2 separate regions of the Homo sapiens genome follow, and region 1 is linked to region 2. The links are contacts of gene promoters, found by promoter capture Hi-C in human tissues and cell types (Jung and others, 2019). All regions are on one chromosome and are shown on one strand. Each heading gives the region's core, a stretch centred on a gene start or on the middle of the fragment in contact. The rest is flanking DNA. Distances are from core to core; before and after follow the strand shown. Region 1 overlaps ARSB (arylsulfatase B). Region 2 holds the start of SERINC5 (serine incorporator 5).

Region 1 (3,428 bases), core at 290-2,789, 1.3 Mb after region 2:
GCTCGCCGTGGGTGCGACCCTGGCCCGTGGGAACCCAGCGGTGATAGGTTAGGAGTGTCCCACCAAAGATTATTTTTTTCCAGGTTCTCAACACCCCTGGAATGAAACCTGATGCTAGGTTGATTTTTCTTAGGCTGCTGACATTCCTTTCACATGTAACCTTGTATTGAACTCTTCTGAGCATCTTCATTATCGCTTTAAAAGCTTCCCTTTAGGAACGGCTCCACAGTTAACGAAGGAAATATAAATGTAGAGCGTGCATAGATGTTAGATGGCTAAGAATATCAAGAACATTTGCATAGCACTTTGTTGTTTTTAAAGTGAATTATTGAAACAGTGCATGAGGTAGTTGTTTTTACCCCGTTTTACAGACGAGGCAGGAAGCCTGTAAAGGCTCGTTGGCATAAGAATCGCACAGCTAGAAAGTGGTCAAGGCAGTGTCCGTTGTGCTTTTCCTGCATCCACTGGTCGTCCCGGGCTTATGAAATTGGCCTTTTTTCCCCTCAATCTGAATACGATTGTCATATTTCTAAGACCCTGAAGTTATTATGACCATATTAAATACAGTAAATGGGAACTGTTGGATACCACCTGCATGCCTTCACAGAGTACATATGCTGTTTACTCAACAAAAATATTTTGAGCTTACTGTGCTACTGACAGGGGATATATATTTGAATGTTGCCCTCCCAAGTGTGTGTTCGCATAACCTGTCAGATCAACCCTAGCCTCACGTGGTCCTAAGATCAAGAGAAGGGAGGGCTTACTTGTGATAAAGATATGCGCAGTGGTCTGAAGGCTTTTATAAAGAGGAAAGATTGGGTGTTGCTAAGGGTGAGAAATAGCTGTAGCCAAGGTTAGAAATGGGAGTAAAGGATGCTTCCCTTCACCATCCACCTTAGTACTTTTGGCGGTTCTGACCTTGGCTGCTACGTGTAATTAGGAATCCCCTACATTGTGTAAATCTCACCCTGGACACTTTGTGGGAGTAAAGGGATGTGCCAGTAAAGAAGAAGAAGAAGGGAAAGGTGAGGTTTGCCCAAAGGGTTCTGCATTTGCTTTGAAGTAAGAGAACTGAACTCAGATTGCAAAAGAATGGAAGGGCCATTCATTTCTCCAACTTCCTCCCTTCCAACAGAGTTGGACAGGAAAGCAAATACCAACTTCAGAAACCCATTCCTGGGCCGGGAACGGTGGCTCACGCCTGTAATCCCAGCACTTTGGAGGCTGAGGCAGGTGGATCACCTGAGGTCAGGAGTTCGAGACCAGCCTGACCAACACGGCGAAACCCCGTCTCTACTAAAACTACAAAAATTAGCCGAGTGTGGTGGCATGCGTCTATAGTCCTAGCTACTCGGGAGACTGAGTCAGGAGAATCGCTTGAACTCGGGAGGCAGAGGTTGCAGTGAGCCGAGATCGCACCACTGCACTCCAGCCTGGGCGACAGAGCAAGACTCCATCTCAAAACAAAATAAAATAAAAAACCCATTCCCGTAATCAGTTGCTTTTGTCCCCTAACATCCTCCCCCACCAGTCACCAAAATTATGTCTTGGAGAACAAACTTTAGTATTTAGAGTACCCCATGGTTATGAAGTAAAGGATGAGTAGAGAAGCTGGGCACTCTGAAAGGTTTAGAGGCCTCTCAGTGTAGCTGATTCTAAAGCAGCCTTGCTTCCCCAAACATTTTTTTTCCTCCAGTTTTCTCACCCACTTTATTCTCTTAGAGTTCATGAGACCCAAGTAGATGTTACCCAGGGTGAGCAAGTGTCCACTTTTAATGAAGTAGAAATTTCAGGGAAGGCTCAGGAGTCTCCGTCAGATACTATATGCTGGTATTGTTCTGAGCACTTACAAGTGTTAACTCATTTGATTCTCACAACAACTCTATCATCTCTGTTCTGTAACAAGGAAACTGATGCTGGAAGAGGTTAAGAAACTTGCCCAAGGTTACAGGGCTAGTATATGTTGGACCAGGATTTGACCCAGGGCACGTGGCCCTAGGGTTGATGCCTATAACCACTAAGCCATATTGCCTACTCAAAATTATTAAAAATAACATCCCAAGGACTGCTTCATACATACTAAATAATCCCTGTATTACTTTTGGACATTTGGGTCATTCCTAAATATCTCAAGGTAAAGAATCAACCCATCATATTTCTGAGTTAGGAATTGCCTATATTCCATGTAAAATAAAAATAGATTTTATTTCTGAGTCATTTGTTATGCATAATTTTAGACAATAAAATGAAGGAATTTTTTGACTGTCTCAAAATGAGTTACTTGAAGGAAGTTGTTAAGAGTCATATCTGGCCGGGCGCGGTGGCTCACGCCTGTAATCCCAGCACTTTGGGAGGCCGAGGCGGGTGGATCATGAGGTCAGGAGATCGAGACCATCCTGGCTAACAAGGTGAAACCCCGTCTCTACTAAAAATACAAAAAATTAGCTGGGCGCGGTGGCGGGCGCCTGTAGTCCCAGCTACTCGGGAGGCTGAGGCAGGAGAATGGCGTGAACCCGGGAAGCGGAGCTTGCAGTGAGCCGAGATTGCGCCACTGCAGTCCGCAGTCCGGCCTGGGCGACAGAGCGAGACTCCGTCTCAAAAAAAAAAAAAAAAAAAAGAGTCATATCTATGAACTTGGCAGTCATGCTTTAAGTTAATATTTACAGACCCCTTTCCCATAATTATTTAACTTTAGAAAAGAAAAGCACAAGTTGATAAACAAGCCTAGACTGACTGGACTTTATACTCTCATGAAATCCTGAGTTTTAGTTTTTTTGGTTTCAGAAATTATTTATTGAGTAAAGAGGACTGGTTAGGAACTGAGATGTAGGTTTTGGTCTTGGCTGGTCAGACTGTGACCTCGCTGGCCATCATTTCCACATCTGTGAAACAGAGGAGTTGGGCTGAACTCTAGACTTTGTCTAGCTCTAAATTAATTTAACTCTAAGGCTCTTGTGTCCATTAGGGCGAGTTTCTAACTTGGCAAATGCACATTATCATACCTATCATACTAACCCCATCTACTGGTAGAAAGATTAATCTTGCCCAACACAGTGTATCTTACAAATTGCGTGTACTACTTGTTCTGCTGCTAGGAACTTACTTAATTCAGCCTTTTATAGTGAGACATTTAATTGTTCACAGCCCTCACAAATGAACTATTTTAAATGTGCATGCTATGGTGAAATATGTGTAGGGACTGGGTACAGGTTGGAGGCAATGGAGGAGACTAATTAGCAGATGGGGTAAGTAGTTACTGGTAAATTCAAGAACTAGAAATTCGGCCGGGCGCGGTGGCTCACGCCTGTAATCCCAGCACTTTGGGAGGCCGAGGCGGGCGGATCACGAGGTCAGGAGATCGAGACCATCCCGGCTAAAACGGTGAAACCCCGTCTCTACTAAAAATACAAAAAATTAGCCGGGCG
Region 2 (7,672 bases), core at 3,675-6,174:
TTACCCACCTCGGCCTCCTAAAATGCTGGGATTATAGGCATGAGCCACTGTGCCCGGCCTCTTTTTTTTAATGGACAGATCCTGCCTCATGTTTGTTTGTATAAATAGAAAAGAATGGTACCAGCTCCATGCAGAAACAGATGGCAGCCCAGGGCTCACACCAGTCCTTCTGTCCTCCCATTGGTAGACAGAGGCCTCTCCTCCAGATCCTTTGTGGGTGTGCATGGGCACCCTTGGAAATTTGATCTGGAGCTGGAACTGGAACTGGAACTGGAGCTGGAACTGGAACTGGAACTGGAGCTGCAACTGAAGTCTGGGCTTTGGTTGGAGCCTTGGCCTTGGACTTTGGCCGGCAAAACCAGCCTTGGCCAGGTGGGTTCAAGCATGCTTCCTAAGCTTGGGGTGGATGATTCAGGCAAGTTGATTGAATTTTCAGCTGATGTCTTTTGGTATCTTGAGCTTGACCATGTAGGGGTGAAGGGCAAACTTCCCCTTTACCCTCTGAAGTTTCACTGAAAATCAACCGACAAGGCAGATTAAAAGGAAAAAAGGCATACAAATTTATTTGATCATAGTTTTACATGCCATGGGAGCCTTCAGAATGAAGATCCAAAGATACAGCAAAATTGTCCATTCTTATGCTTACATTCAACAGAGTATGGACAGCCATGTAGAAATGTGACTGGACAAAAAGTATATTGTTACCAGAGTGGGGTCCTCATCCAGTCCACAAGAGAGGGTTCTTGAACCTCACGCAAGAAAGAATTTGGGGCAAGTCCATAAAGTGAAATCAAATTTATTAGAGAAGTAAAGGAGGTAAAGAATGGCTACTCCATAGGCAGAGCTGCAGCATGGGCTGCTCAACTAATTATAGTTATTTCTTGATTATATGCTAAACAAGGGGTGGATTATTCATGAGTTTTCCGCGAAAGGGATGGGCAATTCCCAGAACTGAGGGTTCCTCCTCCTTTAGACCATATAGGGTAACTTCCTGATGTTTGTAAACTGTCCTGGTGCTGGTGGGAGTGTCTTTTAGCATGCTAATGAATTATAATTAGTGTATAATGAGCAGTGGGCACGACCAGAGCTCACTTTGGTCGCCATCTTGATTTTGATGGGTTTTGGCCGGCTCCTTTACTACATCCTATTTTACCAGCAAGGTCTTTGTGACCTGTATCTTGTGCTGACCCCCACCATCTCATCCTCGAAGAATGCCTTAACTTCCTGGGAATACAGCCCAGCAGGTCACAGCCTTATTTTACCCAGTCCCTATTCAAGATGGAGTCTCTCTGGTTCAAATGCCTCTGACACTATTAACCTGGTTTTGAAGATGAGGAAACTGAGGCTTGGAGGTCACCCAGCTACTTCTTGGTAGAGTTAGAATTTGCAACTTCCTGGCTTGAAAACTCAGGCTTTATCCTTTTCTGGTACCTTTCAATAGAGGCTACAAGTCCCCAGGTTATTTATTTATTTATCTATTGAGATAGAATTTTGCTCTTGTTGCCCAGGCTGGGGTGCAATGGCACCATCTAGGCTAACTGCAACCTCCGCCTCCTGGGTTCAAGTGATTCTCCTGCCTCAGCCTCCTGAGTAGCTGAAATTACAGGTGCCCACCACCCTGCCTGGCTAATTTTTGTATTTTTAGTAGAGACAGGGTTTCGCCATGTTGGCCAGGCTGGTCTTGAACTCCTAACCACAGGTGATCCACCCACCTTTGCCTCTGAAAATGCTGGGATGACAGGTGTGAGCCACCGTGCCTGGCCAAGTGCCCAGGTTATTAAGACTCTTTCTCCAGGTGGCAGACATCCACATTCTCAGAGTCCTCTCACATTGGCATGGAACTAGCAATGTAGGGGAGGGAAAAATGGCTTCCCTCTACCCTTCTAGGTTCTTTACTTGGATTGCAAATTAAATTGACATAACAGAGATTTTTTTTTTTTTTTTTGAGACGGTATCTTGCTCTGTCGCCCAGGCTGGAGTGCTGTGGCACAATCTCGGCTAACTGCAACTTCCGCCTCCTGGGTTCAAGCGATTCTCCTGCCTCAGCTTCTGAGTAACTGGGATTACAGGTGCGCACCACCTCGCCCGGCTACTTCTTTTGTATTTTTAGTAGAGATGGGGTTGCACCATGTTGGTCAGGCTGGTCTCAAACTCCTGACCTCGTGATCCGCCCACCTCGGCCTCCCAAAGTGCTGGGATTACAGGCATGAGCCACCACGCCTGGCCGACATAAGACAGATTAACAGAAGAAAAACCGTTTTAATTACCTGCATACGCAGCAGCACAGGAATCTCACAAAACATGAAGGGCCAGATGATTGAAGCTTATAGCATTCTGAGCTAGAAATAAATAAGGGCTTGGGGCTTCTGTGGGGACAGTGGGGAGGCACCACAGGTAGGATATAGGAGGGTTAGTGGAGGAAATGTATGGTAAATAATGTTGCCTTGTGGCTGCGCGCGGTGGCTCACACCTGTAATCCCAGCACTTTGGGAGGCCGAGGTGGGCGGATCACGAGGTCAGGAGTTCGAGACCAGCCTGACCAACATGGTGAAACCCCGTCTCTACTAAAAATACAAAAATTACCCGGGCGCGGTGGCGCGCGCCTGTAATCCCGGCTACTTCAGAGGCTGAGGCCGGAGAATCGCTTGAACCCGGGGGGCGGAGGTTGCAGTGAGCCGGGATCATGCCAATGCACTCCAGCCTGGGCGACTGAGCGAGACTCTGCCTCAAAAAAAAAAAAAAAAAAAAAAAAAAAAGTTGCCTTGTTATGTAAAGTCTCTCATGTAATAAAAGTTCTCTGAGCAGCTGCCTTCCTGACACAGATACTTTTACTATGTGGACTTCCTTTATAGATGTAAATTTGCTTTACAAAAGGACAGCTTTTCAGAGCTACTCCCGTGTCTGCAGTTTCTCAGAATAACCAGCTTGAAATGTGCCAAACAAGTGTATTTTGGGATAGCATATTTTGGTATTCTACAGTCATAATTTGGGGTGCTGTGGCCTGAGCCTCAGCAGCAAAAAGAGGACATGATTCAGGGTTCGGAGCGCTGGATTCTATTACCAGCTCTGCCCCCTAACCCAGTGGTCTCTTGTGAAAGGTCCTCGAGTTCCGAGTCGAGTCAATTTCCCTAAAAGGCAAAGAGGCATCGGAGTTCCAGCTGGCTTAAACATTTGTAGATTTCGCGCCTTCCCTTTTCGCCCCTCCTTCCTCTCCACCCGTCTCCCCACCCCGAGCTACTAGGGGGCCTGCCCATTTCCCCAGGCCAGGAGTAGGGCTGAAGTGAAGTGACCGCGGTCGTAGCCAACAGCGAAGCTCATTAGAAAGTCCTGGTGAGAGCCTCAGCTTCTGATGAGTCACAGATCGCCACGGAGCAGGTTGCTGCGCTTGACTGATTGGGTTTACCCTATTTTTGTTTTGAGTTAGAGCCAACTGTCCTCATTCCTTTTCGTGGCTCTGAGTAGGGCCTGCTCCATTATATCTCTTTCTCTAAACGCCTGCATCTGAGATGCTGGAAAATCCTGCGCAGCTCATAACCCAAGGCCTGGTTTCCATTCACCTTTCCTCTTCTACTCCTAAGCTGCCCAAGACACTCCTTTGCCAGAGCTCTGTCTGGAAACGAGTCCCTCTAAGGTCAAGCCTTGCGTCATGTGCCAGGGGATCAGACGAGTGGATTCCAGGCCCAGTTTTACTTCCTCAACTTTGCTGTGAGGCTTTGGGCAAGTTATTTAACCTCTCTGGGCTTCAGTTGCCTCACCGCTAAAATGGGTACGGTAATGCTTATTTGAAAGAGCAAAGGGATTGGCGCAAAAATCGCACTAACAGAAATATCTTCATTCCGGCAGGGCGCGGTGGCTCACGCCTGTAATCCCAGCACTTTGGGAGGCCGAGGCGGGCGGATCACCTGAGGTCAGGAGTTCGAGACCAGCCTGGCCAAGATGGTGAAACCCCGTCTCTACTAAAAATACAAAAAATTAGCCGGGCGTGGTGGCAGGCGCCTGTAATCCCAGCTACTCGGGAGGCAGAGGTTGCAGTGAGCCGAGATCGCGTCACTGCACTCCAGCCTGGGCGACAGAGTGAAGCTCCGTCTCAGAGAAAAAAAAGAAAAAAAAAAAAGAAATACCTTCATTCCTCTTGGGGAGGTGGCTGTGAGGACAGCAGATCTGAGTGGGAGAAAACCTAGAGACGGCCTCCCTGCCTTCTGTATGGAACAAGCAATTATTGGGCACCCTCTTTTTAGTGAGGAAGCAGGGACGGAAAATGAGTCCTTGGGCCAGCGCAGGAGGAGAGGCTGGAAAACATATCAATATTCAGGAAGGCACGGAAAGGGCTCTCAATGGATCTCTCACCAAGTGCCATCAGGGCAGAACAGTCAAGGGCCCAGGGATTCGAGGAAGCTTGGGAGGCGCGGAGAGCCCAAAAGTTGAAAGTTTTCTTGGCAGATGAGGGAAGGAAAGGGATTTCAGGAACAAGGATCTCGTGGGTGGGCTGTCCCAGTCGGCGCGCGGCAGAGCGCAGACCAGCACCCGGCGGTCTGGTCTGTGCAGGAAAGGCAGGAACCGCTTACTAAGGCTCCAACCTTTTAGAGGCAGCAACAAGCTCTTTCTCTGGATCCGAAGGCGGAGAGGCGCTGCGCTCTCATTTGGCGAGGGCCCGAGCGCGGCCAGACCGCGCACCAGACCCGGAGCGTGGGGCCCAAAGGCTGGCGGCCGACTCCGGAGCTCGGCGCCCCAACCGGGAAGTGATCGCAGCAGCCCACCCGCCTGACGCCAGCGGAAGTGCGAGCCCGGGTCGAGCCTGCTCCGCCGCCGGGCGCCCGGGAAGGGGCGGGCACGGGGCGGGGCTGGGGGCGGGCGAGGCGGGGCCGGCGGCGGGGCGGGGCTTGGCCGCAGTTGTTTTTACCCAGGCCTCGGCGCCTAGGCGCTTCGCCGAGGCTGATCTTCGTTCAAGTGTGAGCTGCGGCTGAGCCCAGCGCTCGAGGCGCGAGGCAGCCAGGAGGGCCCGTGCGGCGCGGGGAGCCAGCGAGCGCGCCTTCGGCATTGGCCGCCGCGATGTCAGCTCAGTGCTGTGCGGGCCAGGTGAGCGAGGCCGGGCGCAGCGCGGGGGTTGTCAGATCGGAGAACCGGGCCAGGAGTCCAGGCGTGGAGGACCTGCCTGGGTGCGCTCCCAGCTCCGCGGCCGAACGTAGGGCCCGGGTGGGTCGCTCGGGCTGGCCCCGCGGCGCTCAGCCGTCCGGGAAATCCTGTGCCCTGGGCGGGCGGGAAGGGGCAGGGGGAAGCCCGAGAGGCTACCCCGGGGTCTTCCCGTCCGGCCTCCGGGACTCCGCGTGGAGCGGGGCGTGCCGGGCTCGGGCGGAGGATCCCGACTGCTCCAGGGGCGTGTCGCCTCTTGCGCCGAGCACTGGTGAATAGCGCTGAGCTCCGTAGCCCTCTCCACTCTGCTTGTCGGATGAATCCAGGAAGAAAAGTGGGTTTAGGCACCGTCTCCTTTGCTATGCCCTGAATAAAACTCGGGTCAAACAACCCAGGCAGGTTGCGCTTGGCATCTCGTAGTCGAGCGTGGGCTCTGTACCTTTGAGAATGTCTCGAAGCCTGACTTCCAAACTACCGGGCGCAGGTCTGGGCGAAGGGAAAACTCAGCCCTGCTTCCTGAATTTCCCGACCCAACCCTGGCTCGGTACTAGCACGACTGCCTGGGTAGGGCTGGAACCTTCCTGCCTCTCTTTGCAAATAAACTTGTTCGAACCTGTTTTTTAACTCTCGCCTATTTAAACCTATGATGTCTTAAAACATTATGTCTCCTACCAGTTACTGCATCAGTGTAGAATTAGTACGTCTTAGCCCTGTAATGCTGGTTTCACTCCTTCCTGCAGAGTTAGAAAAAACGAAGTAGGTGAGTCTCTTGGATGTGGAGCTCTTTTCTCCCTTTACATGTGGATTATCAGCGTTTCGGTACAGAGTTTTAATGGAGTGTTTTCACGAACGAATCAGACTCTAGGGAGCATCCTGGTTCGGGGTGTTCTTGCTGACACTCAGCCTTTCCACAATCGAGGCCAGCTGTAAGTGATGGAGTGGTTAAACTGTGGGTTTCTGTAACCGGCGATTATACTGGCAGATAATCTGTCCTGTTTAGAGTGGCCACGTGGAGCTGTCTTGGTTTTTGAGGTCTAATACTGTGCTTGGCATACATTAAAGCTGGCCTTTTCAGAGTTGAGGAAATTGAGGCTTTTGACGACTGAGACGAAATGATTTTTTTTCCCTGTGTCAGGCAGAGAGAGAAAGAGAATGAGAATGGTCACCACCTTACCAGGTATTTGAGAACAAGGTGGACCAGGAAAGACTGTTTTCAGAAAGCTCTGCAAATCTTTTATTCCCGTTTTGAAATACTTTTTCTCCAATATGATGCGACACTTTTTATTACGTAGTAATGATACAGCTCTTTAGGGGCATCTGTCCTGGTCCCTTGAAGTCCCCTTGAGGCTCTTTCTGCCATTCCCAAGTTCCTAATTTAGAGCTCTGTAATTACCAGTATTCAAATGGGTTTTGTAAAAGAATTATTTTGCTGTTGATGTTTTAGCAGGTTTCTAAAGTCTCCCCTCTTAGGACTTTGGAAAGAACCAAATCAAAGTTAACCCCTGCTTTCCCAGGCCTGCTGGAGGCATCACTGTGGTGGGCCTCAGTGCTGTGTGATGGTGATCACACTGTGATTTCCTGTGGATGGGGCGGTAGGAAGTTAAAAGAAAAGCAAACAGGCTGGGCGCAGTGGCTCATGCCTGTAATCCCAGCACTTTGGGAGGCAGAGGCGGGCGGATCACCTGAGATCAGGAGTTGGAGACCAGCCTGACCAACGTGGAGAAACCTCATCTCTACTAAAAACACAAAATTGCCGGGTGTGATGACGCATGCCTGTAATCCCAGCTACACAGCTAAGGCAGGAGAATCGCTTGAACCCAGAGGCAGAGGTTGTGGTGAGCTGAGATCACGCCATTGCACTCAAGCCTGGGCAATGAGCAAAAAGAGCAAAACTCCATCTCAAAAGAAAGGAAAGCAAACAAAACCTCACAGCACCGTCAGAAGTTACCAATTCTTGTTTGTTTCTGTGGGCACCTGCCTTTTGCCAGGAGCCTGCTATATAGTCATAAGTCAGACAAGCATCTCTGCTCTCAATGGCCTATCTGGGCAGGGGAGATCATTCATAAACATGTAAACAATGAAACAATGAATATGGTACTGGTACTGTCAGAAGGCCGTGTGGTAAGCAGCCTTGAGGAGGGTTGCCGAGGGAGTCTGAGAAGATGCCTGTGGAGTTGAGACTGCTCAGTGAGGAGAGGCAAGGGAGTCTAGGGTGGCTGGGGTGTCTTAGATGAGGTCAGAGAGAAGAGCAGGACCAGAAATGGCCAGAACCTGTCAGCTGCCTTTGGACTTTGGATTTAATTCTGGTTGCAGTGAGAGGCTGTGGGAGGATTCTGAGCAGGGGCGAGCTGTGGTTTGATTTGCACTTAGAAGATAATTGGGATGTCGTGAAGACTGGACTGTAACGGGCTAGAGTGGAGGTGAGGAAAGCAGTTCGAGTTGGTCATGAAGCAGTTGGTGAGGAAAACCTAAGTGGATATTTGCCTCTTAGGGGCAAGCAGTGTTCTAGGCTTCGGCAGTGAACAAAAATCCTTTCCTGATG

Evidence for each region. Contacts are between HindIII fragments. The study calls those that stand out against the background at their distance.
Region 1: a contact is called between a fragment that was not itself captured here and the fragment with the promoter of SERINC5 in region 2, in 1 of the 25 tissues and cell types used here (lymphoblastoid cells).

The regions. Positions count from the first base shown.
Region 1 is chr5:78,981,107-78,984,534 of GRCh38, reverse strand. The region is part of intron 1 of ARSB (arylsulfatase B); the gene reads left to right. Among named protein-coding and RNA genes, the nearest start is that of ARSB, 2.5 kb to the left of the region's middle. The HindIII fragment of the contact is 4,034 bases long and covers 1-3,428 here.
Region 2 is chr5:80,253,300-80,260,971 of GRCh38, reverse strand. It overlaps SERINC5 (serine incorporator 5), which reads left to right and starts at 4,924. Exons shown (of 12, transcript NM_001174072.3): 1 at 4,924-5,076. The coding sequence starts at 5,050. RefSeq lists silencers at 228-522, 4,612-5,051, 5,162-5,441 and enhancers at 1,959-2,890, 2,891-3,824, 3,825-4,758. The HindIII fragment of the contact is 12,197 bases long and covers 3,360-7,672 here.